Linked DNA regions of Homo sapiens: region 2 is linked to region 1. Evidence: promoter capture Hi-C in 16 types of primary human blood cells and fetal thymus (Javierre and others, 2016). All regions are on one chromosome and are shown on one strand. The core of a region is centred on a gene start or on the middle of the fragment in contact, and the rest is flanking DNA. Distances in the headings are between cores, read along the strand shown.

Region 1 (7,939 bases), core at 2,515-5,014:
AAATGGGACCCAGAGTGGAGAGACAAGGACACTGGTCCAGGGGCTACTGATTCAAGCCTCACCTGAAACCCACATCACCTCCAGACTTCTGAGCTATGTGAGCCGCTAATTCCTTCTTGGGTTTAAGCCAGCGAAGTTTCAGCTCTCTACTCCTTGAGACTGAAAGAGTTGACTAACTCCTGTGAGGCTGGATCCATGAAAACAAAGGCTGTCATCATGATCAGGGCTCTCATCCTATCTCAGCTCCATTTCCCTCTGGGTTGGTTTTGCCCTTAGGCAGGCCCTGCTTTCCTAGTGACAAGATAACACCTAAAATCCAAATTCAGCTTAGCAATCCCCCTGGAAAGAAAGTATGTCTTTTATACCAGTCAGGTGTCTGCTGCACCAATGCCATGCAACAAGCACTCTGAAAATCTCAGTTGCTTATAACAACCATTCCTTTCATACTCATGGGTCTGCAGGTTAGTTGGGGGGTTGTTAATATCAGAGTTAGGCTGGACTCCAGTCTCTGGTTAGGTTCAATTTGCCCCACAGTCTCCATCCTGGACTCCAGATGAAGGTGCCATGGTCGCCTGGGTGTACCTTCCTTTCTCATGGTGGGCAGGAGCTCTAGAGGGGCAAGCGGAAACACAAGATACTTCTTTAAGGCCTAGCTTGGAACCCACACATCATCACTTCTACCGACATTCCATTGACCAAAGCAAGTCAGTGGCTGAGCTCACCATGGATGGTGTGGGGAAGAATATTCACCCACAGTGAACCATGCAAGGGAGGGAGGGAATGAAGAAGCCTCAGCAAAACTCCATCAAACACGTCTTCCTCAACAGTGCCTCAAAGATCTTGGAACTGACTCATTGGCCTGGCCTGGGGTCAATGCCTGAGGGAGGTAGGAGTAAGGGTACAGCTAGGGGTCTCCCATATGGGAAGAAGGGTTATTTCCCAAATGGAAGTCAAGGTGTTGCTGACACAAGAAAGGGCAATGGATCCCACATAGGCAATGAATAAATAATTACATAAACCAGCACTCAGCAAACGGCAACGTGAAAATAAATCACCTGAGATGCTATTACAATGCAGATTCTGAGAGCCAGGCATGGTGGCTCCGACTGTAGTCCCAGCTACTAGGGAGGCTGAGGCTGGAGGATCTCTCAAGCCCAGGAGTTCGAGGCTGCAGCAAGCCACAATCGCACCACTGCACTCCAGCCTGGAAGACAGAGCAAAATCTCATCTCTTTAAAGAAAAAAAATTCATTTAATAAAAAATAATGCAGCTTCTGATTCAGTAGGTCCAGGGTGGGGCCTGAGATGCTGCATTTCTTTTTTTTTTTTTTTTTTTTTGAGACGGAGTCTTGCTCTGTCACGCAGGCTGGAGTACAGTGGCGTGATCTCGGCTCAGTGCAACCTCCGCCTCCCAGGTTCAGCAATTCTCCTACCTCAGCCTCCTGAGTAGCTGGGATTACAGGCACGCACCACCATGCCCAGCTAATTTTTAGAGACGGGGTTTCACCATGTTGGTCAGGCTGGTCTCAAACTCCTGATCTCATGATCCACACGCCTTGGCCTCCCAAAGTGCTGGGATTACAAGCGTGAGCCACCGAGCCCAGCTGAGATGCTGCACGTCTAAACAGTCCCAGATGATGCTAGCAAGGACCAGTAGCAATGAGCAAGACTGAAATTGGGAGAGTCTCTCAGCCTTCTGATGCCACATTCTCATTTACAAAATGATAATTCCACCTGCCACACAGACTTTTCTCAGCCAGGAAGATGGTGCCCTCGGGGGGATAAGGTGATGCGACATTTGTGCTGTCACTCACCTCCTGCCTGCCCCCTGCACCTCGAGGCCTCCCTCAGCCCCCAGGAAAGGACTCACAGCCCAGCCAGCAAGGAGACAGGAGGAAGATATCACAAAGTGAGTGCAGCTTCTGTTAACTGCCTTAAGCTGCTCCCTGCAATAATGTTGGTGTAATCCATAAGATTCAATTATGGTTATCAGACAATTAGGCACACCACAGCGAGGTTATTGCATAATTAATGCTCAGTCCCCATCTCAGCCTCTGAGAGTGACACAGGTTACAAGATTCACCTGCCCCGCATCTGGGAGAGGAGCAGGGGCACCCAGGATGGGGAATGACCTCCCTGTGGGCTCAGAGGAGGATGTTCTTAGGACCCCAGAGGCATGGCAAAGGGACAGTGTGTGGCTGAAAGAGCTTGAGTCAGTGTGTGCCCAGGGCCCTCACGCCTGCCATTGTGTTTAGGACTTGGGCTTTAATCTCTGGAGCGAGATTCAAATCCTGCCTCAACTACTGATTGGCTATATGGCATTAAGCACTCGCCTTACATTTTTAAAGCCTCCATCTCCTTGTCTTTTAAAGAAGGGAATTGATGATGTTATGAAAACTGGATGAGAGAGTTTGCATATTGGTTAGATGGTTCCTGCAGTACTATTTTCATTATTTCCCTCTCTGAGCCTCAGTGTCTTCATCTGTAAAATGGGAATAATTAGCCTCACCTTGCCTAGGCTTGAAAGATCAGCCGGTAGTTTGAGACCTGCCTGGGCAATATAGCAAGACCCTGTTCACCACAAAAAAGGAAAAAAAAAAGGATGAAAGATCAGTTTGTGAGTCAAGTAAGACACACATGTGAACGGGATGTGTGGAGTGCTTTGCTAACGCGCCATTGTCTTAGTTACTATGTGCCTGGTTTTCTGCTCAACCCTCCAGGGTACGACTTTGTACAAGTCCCCAGGTCTCAACAGGACAGTGGGTGATCAGCCCACCTGAGAAGTGAAACTCATGATTTGGGTGAGTAGACTAGAGGAGAATCACTTCTTTCTTTCTTTTTTTTTAGACGGAGTCTCGCTGTGTCACCCAGGGATCTCAGCTCACTGCAACCTCTGCCTCACCGGTTCCAGTGATTCTCCTGCCTCAGCCCCCCGAGTAGCTGGGATTACAGGCACACGCCACCACACCTGGCTAATTTGTTATTATTAGTAGAAACGGGGTTTCACCATGTTAGCCAGGCTGGTCTTGAACTCTTGACCTCAGACGATCCACCTGCCTCAGCCTCCCAAAGTGCTGGGATTACAGGCATGAGCCACCATGCCCGGCCTGAGAATCATTTCTTGAGCTATGATCTGTAACATTCAAATGAGCCTCAACGGACACAAAACAGAAAAATCATCAAAAATGTCGGTGAAAAGTTCAGGTGGGAGAACTCAGGTGATGGTGCAGACAGAAGCAAGTAGGGGAGAAAGCTGGCTTCAGGGAGAGTGGTTAGGCCTTTGTGAGAAAGACTGGGGACTTCTCATATCATCCTCTGTGTCCCAGTTCCCAAAACACACACGCACATGGGCACATGCATGCAGGCACACAAAAACAAGCCCATACACCAGACGAAAAAATACAGATGCAGGTACACACACATGGACATGGACATGTGTGTGCCTGTGCCCATATAAACAAACATTAGTGCACACACACACTCACACACACACAGGCTCGGGCAGTATGTGCTCACACACAACCATACACACAGATACGCACAGAGGTACATTCACACACAGACCAACACACACAGGCACACAGATGCATGCACGCATGCACGTGCGCGCACACACACACACACGTGCACCCACCCTCAGTGATAACCTTCCAATCCACTGGCCTCTCCGAAATTAGCACAGACCATTTTCCCACGACCCTTTCTCGCTGAGCGTGTGATTCCAAAACTGTCCACAAGAAGGTGCTCGGGAGCCAGAATTCAGGCGTTCCCGGCCCGCGGACGCTTAGAGAGGGGAGCTTCGGAGTTATGGGGGGACCCACCCTTCCATTTAATAACTGAGAAAGCCACGGGAGGGGACTTGCTGGGCTCACAGCCAGTGATCCCTGCCCTGTTTCCTTATGGGGACTGCGGTCAGAAATGGGGAGTGGGGCAGAAACTGTCACTGTCACGGTCCTGTTTAGAGAGGAAGGTCGGAGAAACCAGTGCCGTGGAAGGCTCTGGGGCGTTGACAGGCGCTGTCCCCAGCTCACCGGCTCTATGACCCTGGGTAAGTTACCTGGCTTCTCTGTTCCTCAGTTTTCTCGTCTTCCCTGACCCAGGCTTTCCCGACTCCTCTAGGGGCCCCTTCCCCTCTCCATGAACACCTTCAGATCTCGGACTGTTTTCTCCACTCAAGTGGCATCTCAGCTATCCCCTCCCGGGTTAGGCCTCCCTGGCCCCTATTTAACGGTGTCCCCACCCCCACCACTATCTTGTTTGTACCAACACTTGCTGCCTGACAATGCACACTTGTTCATTTGTTCACGTTTATTTTGTCTTCTCCAGAAGAATGGAAACTTCGTCAGAGCAGGGACGTGAGGGTGAACTGCTCACCCGGGCACCGCTGGCGACCGGAACCCAGCTCCCTCCGGGCTCCGGGAGAGGCGGCCTCAGCTGTGTGCTGGTGCTGCCCTCCAGCGGCGCTGGGTCCCCATGGCACCTGGCTTTCTCCTGCTCCCCAGGGGCCTTTTCTTCTCCCGCCCACCTGTCACCAGCCGCCAGGGCAAGTCTCTGTGTGACTCTAGGGTGAAGGTGGAGGGACCTTGCCTCCGAGGATTCATCCCACCCGGATTCCGATGAGTGAGGGACCCTCTCTGGCACCTGGTGTTTGAATGGCCAGCCTCACAGTTAATAAAGACAAGTTTGGTATCAGCTGTGGGATCCGTCCAGAAAAAGACACCTTTGGGGCAGAAATATAATGGTGCCTGTCTCGACATAGTCTAATAAGGAAAGAAAGACAAGCCAGTCCAACGGTCCCATTTTACACATGAGGTCACTTCATCCCCACCTAGGACAGGAGGGTACAACGGCCTGGCCTAAGATAACCCTAGAATATGGTCACTCATTCTTCCACCCACTGAGAACCTCAGGGCAGTAGAGTTTTATGCAAAGCATGTGGTCCTGAAAAACTTGCATAATTCAAAGCGTGCATAATTTCTGACTAATTTTGCCAGAGAAATGAATGCAAAGTAGAAAGGATAGGTTGCATACATTACTCCAATTGTGGCATATTTTTGCCTTAATGCTGCTTTTTATTTCCCTGGCATTATCGCTAATATTTCATAACGCACTCTCTGCTAAATTAACAGTGCAGCATTTCCTGCCGGTGGTTTGGCCTTCTTCATAACGTTTTATCACATCTCACTTCCTTTCCAATGTTATCGATTTTCAGGTGCGTTTTTCAGCACCACCACTTAAAGAACACTTGGATGACATTGTTACAGGATATGGGTAAAATATTTAAAGTTATAATAACTGTGAACATTGAGAAAATGGCACACCAGTCACCAGAATCTCCTGCAGAAATTAGAAATTCAGAGGCATGTAAACAACAGTGCATGCATATAGAAAGCAGGTATTTCTATTTAATAACCAAAGCAACGTCGCCATGTGGCAGGTTTACAGTCCTCATTTAACAGCTCACTTAGTTCCTCCGACTCAAGGAAACTGCAATTCTTGACAGGTTTTTTTTTAACTGAGGGGCTTGGCATTATTTCCAGCTTAGTGCATAAACATGTATTAGCATTTTTATATTGCACCTTGCCAAAGTCACAGTTTAGACTCCCATAAACAGTGACTTCACCCTAAATGGTCACCCTAAATGGTTAAGGCTGTGTCCTTAACCCCAGAAGGGTGGAAATGTATGACTCCACCTAGTCATCTCAGATACGGATTTCAGAAATCTCAGCCACCCACCTCATACTTACACAGGGACCTTTTTGGAGGCAGCATCATCTGAGGCCGCTCTTGCCCAATTTGGCTGGCCCCACCTCCTCCCCAACGTCATCTTCTCTTGCAGTCTAGAGAGGGGGGCTACTCCCCCAATATAGCATCCATATTTAGATCCATGTTGGAGGGTGGGTAGAAAGGGGAGGTAGGATGAGGGAAAATTGAGTCTCAGTTTCACACATTTGTAAGATCGTCAGACTTTCCACATTGCCAAGAAACTCGTCAGCACAACCGCTGTGAATTGGCTTCTTGGCCTTCGTCTGCCCAGAATTGCTTCCAGAATGGCTCCTTCAGCTTGGCCTGAGCTTGGCCCCAGAAAGAGTGCCACGGGCCCTAGGAAGGAGGAAAAGTGGGGCATTCAGGGCAGGCTCTGAACCCACTTGGATTCCAGTCCTGATTCCATTTGCATGTGACCTTGAGCAAGTCTCTATGCAAGGCACTTCACCTTTCTGGGCCTCAGTTTCCACCTCTGTCAAATGGGGATAATAATACCATCTACTTCCCAGAATTGGTGCCAGAATGAAAAGCAGTCCCTGCTGTGATAGTGTCTAGAACAGAGTAAGTGCCCAATAAATATTCCTTCGCTCTTGTTGCAGTTAGAAAAGCGACTGGATGAGGCGTACATTTACTGGTACCCTGGGATGTATAAGGGCCAGTGTCCGGGTGAGGCGATCCTGCCCCTCGGAGAATTTATGGTCCAACTTTGGAGAGTGAACCTGCCCTCCCACTAATTCAAGAATTCACCAGCCAGGAGAACTGCATGTGGAATTGCCCGGTCCAGCCCTGACTTTGCGCAAGTGTCCATCAAGTCTCCTTCTGCCTCTGGGCTGCCTCTGAGACTTGAGGGGGAGTAAACAGGAGCCTAGGGGTCTCTCCACCCTCCAGGTGCCCCATCAGGCCGGCACCTCCCCACCAGCCCACCCCTCCCCTTGCAGCAGCAAATCTGCAAATGTGCCTTGCAAGCATGTCCAGTGGGCCAGAAGCCACACTCATCCTCCCCACCCCTTCAGAGGACAGCAGAGGTGCCTGGCCCAAAGGCGGTGGTTGGAGCCTGGGCTTCCTGCCTGGGGTGGGGTGGAGAGGGATCTGCCTTCTCTTCTGGGCCCCTGCCCCCCAGGTTTTTCTTCCTCGATACTCACGTTCCTTTCCCTGGACAATCCCTTGCTCTATGAGGGCCTCAGCTTTCCCCTCTGAAAAATGGGCAGCCTGGACTTCTCCAGCTCCTCCAGCTAAGACATTCATCTCCCTATCTCCACACCAGCCTCGCCGCCAACACCCCGGTCCCTCTCTCTCTCCTCTGCTGTTGTGGGGGCCTGTCCCTGGGGTCACTGAGGCTACTGCTGGCTGGGCTCCCAAGCACCAGAGAAGGACTCCACAGAACAATAGCAGAAGGAAGGGGGCCATTCTTCAGGAGGAGAGAATGAAATGGCCTAGCTCAGCCATGCCTGCCCTAGGTCCAAAGCCCCCAGCTCCATTCCTGCCTCTTCTGCCATGTTCCCATGTTTCTACATATGCATGTCTCCCACCAGACAAGGTGGTCCTGAGAGCAGGAGACACCCAGGCTATCCTCGCTGTATGCCTAGCACCTGGGTGCTGGGACCTGTTTCCTGGTCGGACAGAATGGGCGCCCACCCAGCAGGTGCAAGGATGGTAATGTTTTCCCGGCCTGTAGCCTGAATTCCAAGTGTCCACTCAGGGCCAAACCATGCAGTCAGAAAAGGATTCTCACTGGGCAAGTGGCTCAGGCCTATAATCCCAACACTTTGGGAGGCCAAGGCAGGTGGATCACTTGAGGCCAGGAGTTCGAGACCAGCCTGACCAACATGGCAAAACCCCCTCTCTACTAAAAATACAAAAATTAGCCGGGCATGGTGGCAGGCACTTGTAGTCCCAGCTACTCGGGAGGCTGAGGCAGGAGAATCGCTTGAACCCAGGAGGTGTAATTTGCAGTGACCCGAGATCGCGCCACTGCGCTCCAGCTTGGGTGACAGAGCAAGAATCTCTCTCAAAAAACAAAGCAAAAAGAAAGGACTCTCACAGTGAATAACCTAAGTCTACAAAAATAAAAGAAAGGACTCTACCTCAGGCCCACACTTCCCTCCCCTCTCTGCCTCCCTTCCCCTCTCCCCCAAGCCCCTCTTCTGCTTGCCTCCAGCCTCCCACCTAGAGAC
Region 2 (7,939 bases), core at 3,287-5,786, 230 kb after region 1:
TTTACATTTACATTTTGAAGATGGATGATTAGATCTAGGAATTCTACTACACTCTTCCTTTTTCCTATGCTTGATGTATGAAACAGAGGGATTTTTTTCCATGAATGTTTTTCCTTTGCTTAATACCATTACAAACTTACATTGCTGTATGTTTTTATGACACTTATCACTAGTGTATCCTTTTTAAAAATGCTTTTCTTAACCCAAATATCAGAAGTGTACTTGCAAATAACAGGACTATACTTCTTAAAATCCAAATATAAAGGACATCATTTTACTATTTTCTTGCTGCACGTTACATACTAGAGGATTCAGCAAAATGATACAGTTGAATAACTGTATGCCAAAAGATGAAGCCAGCCCATGCCTACGTGAAACAGCTCCTGAAAATGCTGGTTTCTCAATGTCTAGATCCAGTGACAATCAGATTTCTCCTCTGCCTAATAACATTTTTCATTTCCCAATGAATAGAATTTCTTTCACTAAATGCTTGTTTTGCAGCCTTAAAAGTGGCAGACAAATTAAAATTCCACTCTCTATAACCACGTTAAGAATCAGACAAAAGCCAATCTACCTGTTCAGGATCTGTTGTTCTGACTCATTGTTGGGCCATCTGTTTATGTGTGCTGCTTGTCTCACGGTGCAAATCAACCTGCTGCTGGGCAGACCTGCCTCATGCTGCAAACTCATTCTGCAATTTCAACCTCCCTCACCAGCAATAGGTCCTCTTATCAGAACCTAAAACTACCACTTCAATCAACTCGAGTCAGACCTTATTCTACTGCTCTTGTATAAAAAAGTGATACACCACAGGCCCATGTGCAAACAGGTCACCTCTGAACACTGGGCTCGTAAGGAGGATGGCAGCACAGTTTTGCTCCTATCAAAACATTTCAGTACCATCAGTAGCAATCAGCCTGCTACCCAGGAATATACATGTACCACTGTGGAGAGAGGCTAAAAAGATTACTGAATCCCAGAGGACAAGAATATGAACTACAAATACAAACCATTCTAGTCGTCTTTGTTTTAAAGATTGGTAACTTACTCACAGCTAGGTTTCCATCTGTGTTATTAGCACACAAATTTAAAGCAGTTTAGAAAAGGTTCTCAGAACATCCTTTGAGTCATCCACAAATATCAATTTGCCTGCTGCTTTGCAAGCACTGTGCTAATCACTCTCTCATCTTAGATGTGAAAGGATGTTAGGGCCATGGATAGAGTGGTAGGCAGTATAAGGTTTGAAGACAATATTAAATGAATATGCCTACTGAGTATATAGTATTGTAACAGATGTAGTATATTAACAAGTTAAATTATTTAAGAAGTTTCCACATCTATTTTAGGAAACAGAAGATGTACATGCAAAATAACTCTACCATTTCTTTTTCTTTTTTTTTTTTAAACAGAGTTTTGCTCTTGTTGCCCAGGCTGGAGTGCAATTGCGTGATCTTGGCTCGGCGCAACCTCCACCTCCCAGGTTCAAGTGATTCTCCTGCCTCAGCCTCCCGAGTAGCTGGGATTACAGGTATGCGCCACCATGCCCAGCTAATTTTGTATTTTTAGTAGAGACGGGGTTTCTCCATGTTGGTCAGGCTGGTCTCGAACTTCGGACCTCAAGTCATCCACCTACCTCGGCTTCCCAAAGTGCTGGGATGCTGGGATTACAGGCATGAGCCACCACACCCGGCCTTTTTTTGTTTTTGTTTTTTTTTGAGACAGTCTCACTCTGTTGCCCAGGCTGGAGTGCAGTGGTGTGATCTCAGCTCACTGCGGCCTCTGACTCTTGGGTTCAAGCAATTCTCCTCCCTCAGCCTCCCTCCCGAATAGCTGGGATTACAGGCACCTGCCACCACGCCTGGCTAATTTTTATATTTTTTGCACAGACAGGGTTTCACCATGTTGGCCAGGCTGGTCTCAAACTCCTGAGCTCAAGTGATCTGCCCGCCTCAGCCTCCCAAAGTGCTGGGATTACAGGCGTGAGCCACTGTGCCCGGCCAGAACCCTACCATTTCTTACAGAGTATCAACAAAGAAAATTATTAGAAAATTTAAAAACTATGTAAACAGAGAAGAGAGCAGTAAATAGAGAAAACAGGACCACAAACAGAGGTCAAGATCAAACCTGGGAGAGTATATATTTTGTGCAATGCTAACTCAAGGAAACTTTTTTGAGATTAAAAATAAAACTTGGTCTATCAATAATAATTAAAAATTATTACTTTGCAGAAATGGAGTAAGGCAAGTTTCCCTGCTAGTGGTTGATTATAGGTCTCTAAACAGATAAACTAATATGTACCCAGTGAAATAGCACATAGTATATACTTCCACCAGGTTCTATTCTTTACATTTAGAAGACTGTTCCTTGAGACTAGAAAGTAGAATTATTCTACCTTGTTTCTAACAAATGTACTTCAAAATGCAAGCTTATTTTGAGAAGGGAAATTTAAAAATATATCTATAGAGGACAAAAAATGTATAATTTAGGAGGAGCTGAATATTTAATGGATTAGTGGGTTAGAAGAGGAAGAACAATGTCAATAACATGCAGAAATACATCTAAAAACACAGATTTGAAAGGACCAAATATTATGTTACTTATTTAGTGATGACAAAGCACAGAGATGATAAGGGACTGATACCTACATGAGAATTTATGTATCCCAGTGGGTGAGAAATTCATCATGTTTCATTTTGTTCAAGCACCTACTGCCTCCAGTATATAGAAACATCGTAACTTTTCTCTTGAGGATGAGGCATAGCAGTGGTGAACAGGAAGGCTTGTCTTATCCTCTGTGCTAAGAGAAAGTCGCAATATTCTGCAAGGCTGCAACATGACATTTACTAAACAACCAGCAACATCTCTAGTCTTTTTAAACAACATTGATAAGTAAAAATAATGATCTAGGGGAGATTCTAATTTTTCGATTGACTAGAGAGCTGAGGACAGTACATTAGCCCTTTTAACTGCTTGATAGGTGTAAGCAAAATAAGACAACACAATAGTACCAGTCAAATTGTTAGTGAAGGCAGCAAACTATAGAGAAGAAACCAACATATTTAGCACGAAGAAACTGCTACACTATTTCCCTCACTATGCTATGCAAACAAATTATTCACTTCTACACTATATGCCAAGGAATACAGTGTTATTTAGAAAATATATTCTCTCACCTCTAGCTGTAACAGAAGCTAAGCACTACTTCTTCATACTCTACTGAGAGTTGCAGGATCTCTCTCATCAAGATATGATAGTACTCATAGCACTTCTGAATTCACTGCTGAAAATGACCATTAGCTGCGATATGGGACTAAAGACAAGTACACAATTACCAGAAACTAGGTAACAGTCAAATGGTGAATAATTTTAAACAGCTTTAAAGACTCTATAACGTTTTTCTTTTGAAAAGTTGTAAAGACACTTAAAATTGACCAATGATCTGTCAAATTCAATTGTCTAATGATTTTAATCCAACCCCTCTGAAACATTCCTATTAAGATATAAATTTATGGCTGGGCATGGTGTCTCACGTCTGTAATCCCAGTACTTTGGGAGGCTGAGGCAGGCAGATCACCTGAGGTTTGGAGTTAGAGACCAGCCTGGCCAATAGGGTGAAACCCCATCTCTACTAAAAATACAAAAATTAGCCAGGTGTGGTGGTGGGTGCCTGTAATCCCAGCTACTTGGGAGGCTGAGGCAGGAGGATCGCTTGAACCCAGGAGATGGAGGTTGCAGTGAGCCAAGATCGCACCATTGCACTCCAGCCTGGGCAACAAAAGTGAACCTCCGTCTCAAAAAAATAAATAAATAAATAAATAAATAAATAAATTTATATGTCACTTTTTCATTGTTTCACGTTCAGAGGTCACTGTGTCATCTTCTATATTCAAAACCTATGTTAAAATAAGAATGTGACACTCTAAACTCTAAGTAATGCTACAGCAATAGCTCAACATATCTTAACCATAAAATCAGACATTTTGCTAACACAACTGAAATAATTCACTGGAACTTACTAACATAGCTGCTTCAGAAGCAGAAACATCACAGAAGTCTAAGAAGAAAAACTTAAAGCCATGTATGGTTCTGGTAGAGAATCTGAAGGGAATGTGGAAACTGAAAAACCATCAAGGTTAAGTCAAAGGTTCTGTGACCACCAGGGGGGCTGGAAATGGGGCTCTAAGATGTTCTGTCACCAGGTCCATTGACAGCACACTAGATATCACTGTTATCAACAAATTTCTATTCCGATAAAGTATTGCCATGTACTTAGCCAATGCACCTGTAGATTCTAATGAGATAAGCCCACATTGATATAACCTAGGAAATAAATAACAAGACTAACAATAGAAGCTCCAGTTGGTGTCTCCGTCACATGCACCACAGCATCAACAGACCACCTAATAACATAGGGAGGAAAACAAAAACACTGCTAGCTAACACTGAATTTTTGTATAAGAAAAGAACAGGAAAAGGATTAACTACATTCTTTTCCCCCATGCTTACATTTTTAAAATTCCATTAGTATCTTGCCAGATTTTCAAGAGAAAGGCTGTGTGCATCAGAGTTAACTGGTATGATAGGCCATGGGAGAATAAAACCAATAAGAAACCTTTCTGTTCTGCACTTCACAGGGCTGTCACTCGTACTAGAAAAACGTCACTTTGAAGCCCTGTTTGCATTCCATTTTTAACTAGAGGGAAGAGGATGGAGGTCTTTGGTTTCTATGACAACCCAGATGGGCCATAATACAAGATACTTACAAATGTTCAATTGCAGGGATGCCAAATCAAATTAAGGCAGAGTTAGCACTACTTCATAAAAACTAGATGGGGAGAAAACAAAATACTTATGGCAAGACGATGCCATTTCTAGAAGTGGTTCGGAAGGATTTCATGAGAAAATATAAAGAAAAGAGTGACTATTTTTAGTGAAAACAAAACAGTAAAACTAATATATAAAAATAAAGCTCCAATTTACATAAGTAAATGCTTTCATTAAAATTTAGACTACTGAAAAATTACTACTTCACTTAATGTTTTTAAACACTCCCTTACAAATAACATGATATTCATTAGTGATTTACATCATTATAATCTGGCACACTGGGCTAGGTTTTAATGGTGGGTTGAGCTCCTTTGGGCAACTTTTTCTTTTGCTCCATCCTCACCATTTGTTACTATATTTGGCCTTCATAACTAGAATGCATAGTCCTCAAAATATTTGTGGAATGGCTAATGCTTCAGAAATAAACTAATTTGTAACTTTACTACAATTTGTAAAATTTATTAACTTTCCAATAATAACCTACCATATCTCTTTCCATTTATAAATGATGATTTATTTGAGAACCACCCTCAGCAAATACTTCTGGGCTTTTGAAAGCACTATTTGGGGGAAAAAAAAAGGAATTCACACATGGCCTTTTTCATTTAAGGGCAGAAAGTGCTGTATATTCAAACTTCATAAGGGAACTTATTTACGTCACAGATATTACCATTAGATAAAGGGGATGTCATATACACCTTTAAGGGATATAATGAAGAACTTTGGACTCTGTCCCCGTAAAATGTCCTATGTGTGCAAACATATAAAACAATTTTGCACACATTTCAGGGAATTTAGAGGCACCCCCTCAAACCCCTCCACAGAACTAGTTTTATCTTTATTCAAAAGACCCTTCTTCCCCAAGGCCGAAATTTGTAATGAAAAAAAAAGTCTCTAGAACAAAGCAAAACAAAAAAACACCCAATGTATTTAACATTAAGTAGATCATTGATACCTTTTTACTTAAAACACAGCTCAAATTAAATGAATTCAAATAAAATGAATTAATTGGATAAATATCTGCTACAGAAATTTTTCTAAAGATTGAATACTATGATTTCTAACTGTTTTGGATTTGCAAAATCAGGTAAGTTTCTGTGACTTTCTCTTCTCCCCCAAATAGCACAAACCCATTTAAAATTATCTTGAGACATTCTGAGACTATAAAAACAGGAGTAGAATAATTTCCTCAATAGAATCTTTTTAAAGCTCAGATTATTTCTTGCTTTGAAAAGAAAATCTGTATATGAGAGTGCCACTAAAAAAAGTCCTAAAAACTTTGTGCATATAGTGTATGGAGGAAAGAGCTTGGGTTAAAGGCTAACATTCAAAAAAAAAAAAAAATGCCAAGTTTTCTTTTCACACCATCTATGTGTCTAGTCATCACTCAGACTCTCTTCGGTGTTAATACTGTTACAAAATGAGGATAATACCTATCCTCTCCCCCACTGCTAAAAGAAAAAAATATTTTATAAAACTAAAGAGTCATAAAATATTCAATATTCATAGTACTAATGACACTAAAACAAGAAATTGATAGCTTAAAAATGCTGATGAACTTGATTTTTAAAACACCATAAAGCTGCCCTGCTGCCCATAATGATGATGACATTTTCACGAAGGGCAGAGTGAGAAAACGCTACAATTCTCACTAGGATGATGACTAGTACTTATAGAAGATTAAAAATAAGAATGATATATTATGTAGAAGAGAAGTAAAGATGGAAGTATGAGTATGGCTCAGCACACTACAGAGCACATGAATTTTAATTTGAAAAGTACTGGCAAGGCCTTGCATGCAGGCCCACACAAGTGCTTTTAAAAGCTTCATTACACTCTGCAGACATTTGCCCTTCATCAATTGCTTCCTATGCCAGGATTTCCTTTTTGAGTGTTGCAACCTAATATTCTTCACCCAGGCAACCACAGCCTATTTTGGAAAGGTTCCCTATTTCAGAAGCTTCAGTGCTGTTTCCATTTGGAAATACATCTTTATGAAAATATGTATCATCCTCAGAACAAAAATGCTTCAATATATTAAGTTTCAGCTGTAAGTGATATTTTTAGAAAAGTGGTAATTTCAGAATCTCTGCTTCAAAATTACAGAGTTGGTTTTTTTAAACGGAGTCACAAAGTAGAAAATTAAAAAGATATACCAATGAATAAAATCCTGTCTCCCCTTTTTCTTATCCCATTTCATTTAAAAATGTTTAAATTTATTTTCCATAGATTCTTAAAATCATTGAATTATGCATACTGGTAAGAAATTTCATCCAATGTTCATCTTCATAAAAACCAAATAACTCAATGCAAAAGAGCTCTTAACAGTCAATTTTCTAAGAAATGGTCTGACATCACAGATGGTGTTTTCTATATAACAAAGTGAATCAATTTGAGATGTCTTGGACACTGTAAAAAACTTGTACTTTTGACCAAAGGAAATGGATTTCACTTTTAATAGATAAGAAATAAGAGACACTGGGGAGTAGGGAAGGGGTAGAGGAGAGAAGGAAGTCCTTGTTCTAAGATTATATTAAAAGCTACTTAAAACATGTAAGTGACAATATTTCATAAACTGAAATATTTTATCAGTAGCTATGACAGAATATTCTCTATTCTTTTCTTCAACATAAAAGTTTTAAAGAACTGTGCTCATTTGACCTCTTATCAAACAAAAACTCACTTTTCTTCATATTGGTTTGCATAGCACAGACTATTACTTTTTCATAGCACTTAACTTTTACTGTGGATGAGGGCTGTATCTGCCAGGCCTAGAATGCTTTCCATTGAACTGTCTCCTCAAGACTAAAGGACTCATCATCTAAAAGATGTCTTTGTAAAATACAGTTTATGCCTCCTGAAAATACCATCTCTCCCTCTCTCCCATTCACTACACACATACTTACATGTGTTCGAAATTTATTCCCCTTCTTTATCATGGCTACCCTCAAGAAAAAACACAGGGAAACAGATAAGCACTACACAACAAAGTTTACTTTTTCCCTTTACAATAATATTTGTCTCTTACTGCAAATGTCTCTGAATATGGAAAATGAGATTATGCAGTTAAATTTTAACACATGCATGTATACACCCAACTAATACAGCAGTC

Evidence for each region. Contacts are between HindIII fragments. The CHiCAGO score rates a contact against its expected background, and 5 or more counts as called.
Region 2: a fragment that was not itself captured here is called in contact with the fragment with the promoter of LINC02716 in region 1 in 1 of 17 cell types (naive B cells); the score reaches 5.5 in naive B cells.

What each region holds. Positions count from the first base shown.
Region 1 is chr11:45,767,668-45,775,606 of GRCh38, forward strand. It overlaps LINC02716 (long intergenic non-protein coding RNA 2716), which reads left to right and starts at 3,765. Exons shown (of 2, transcript NR_027134.1): 1 at 3,765-4,047; 2 at 4,326-4,691. RefSeq lists an enhancer at 3,457-3,958. The HindIII fragment of the contact is 20,811 bases long and covers 1-7,939 here.
Region 2 is chr11:45,997,128-46,005,066 of GRCh38, forward strand. The region is part of intron 6 of PHF21A (PHD finger protein 21A); the gene reads right to left. Among named protein-coding and RNA genes, the nearest start is that of LARGE2, 78 kb to the left of the region's middle. RefSeq lists an enhancer at 3,594-4,216. The HindIII fragment of the contact is 4,227 bases long and covers 2,424-6,650 here.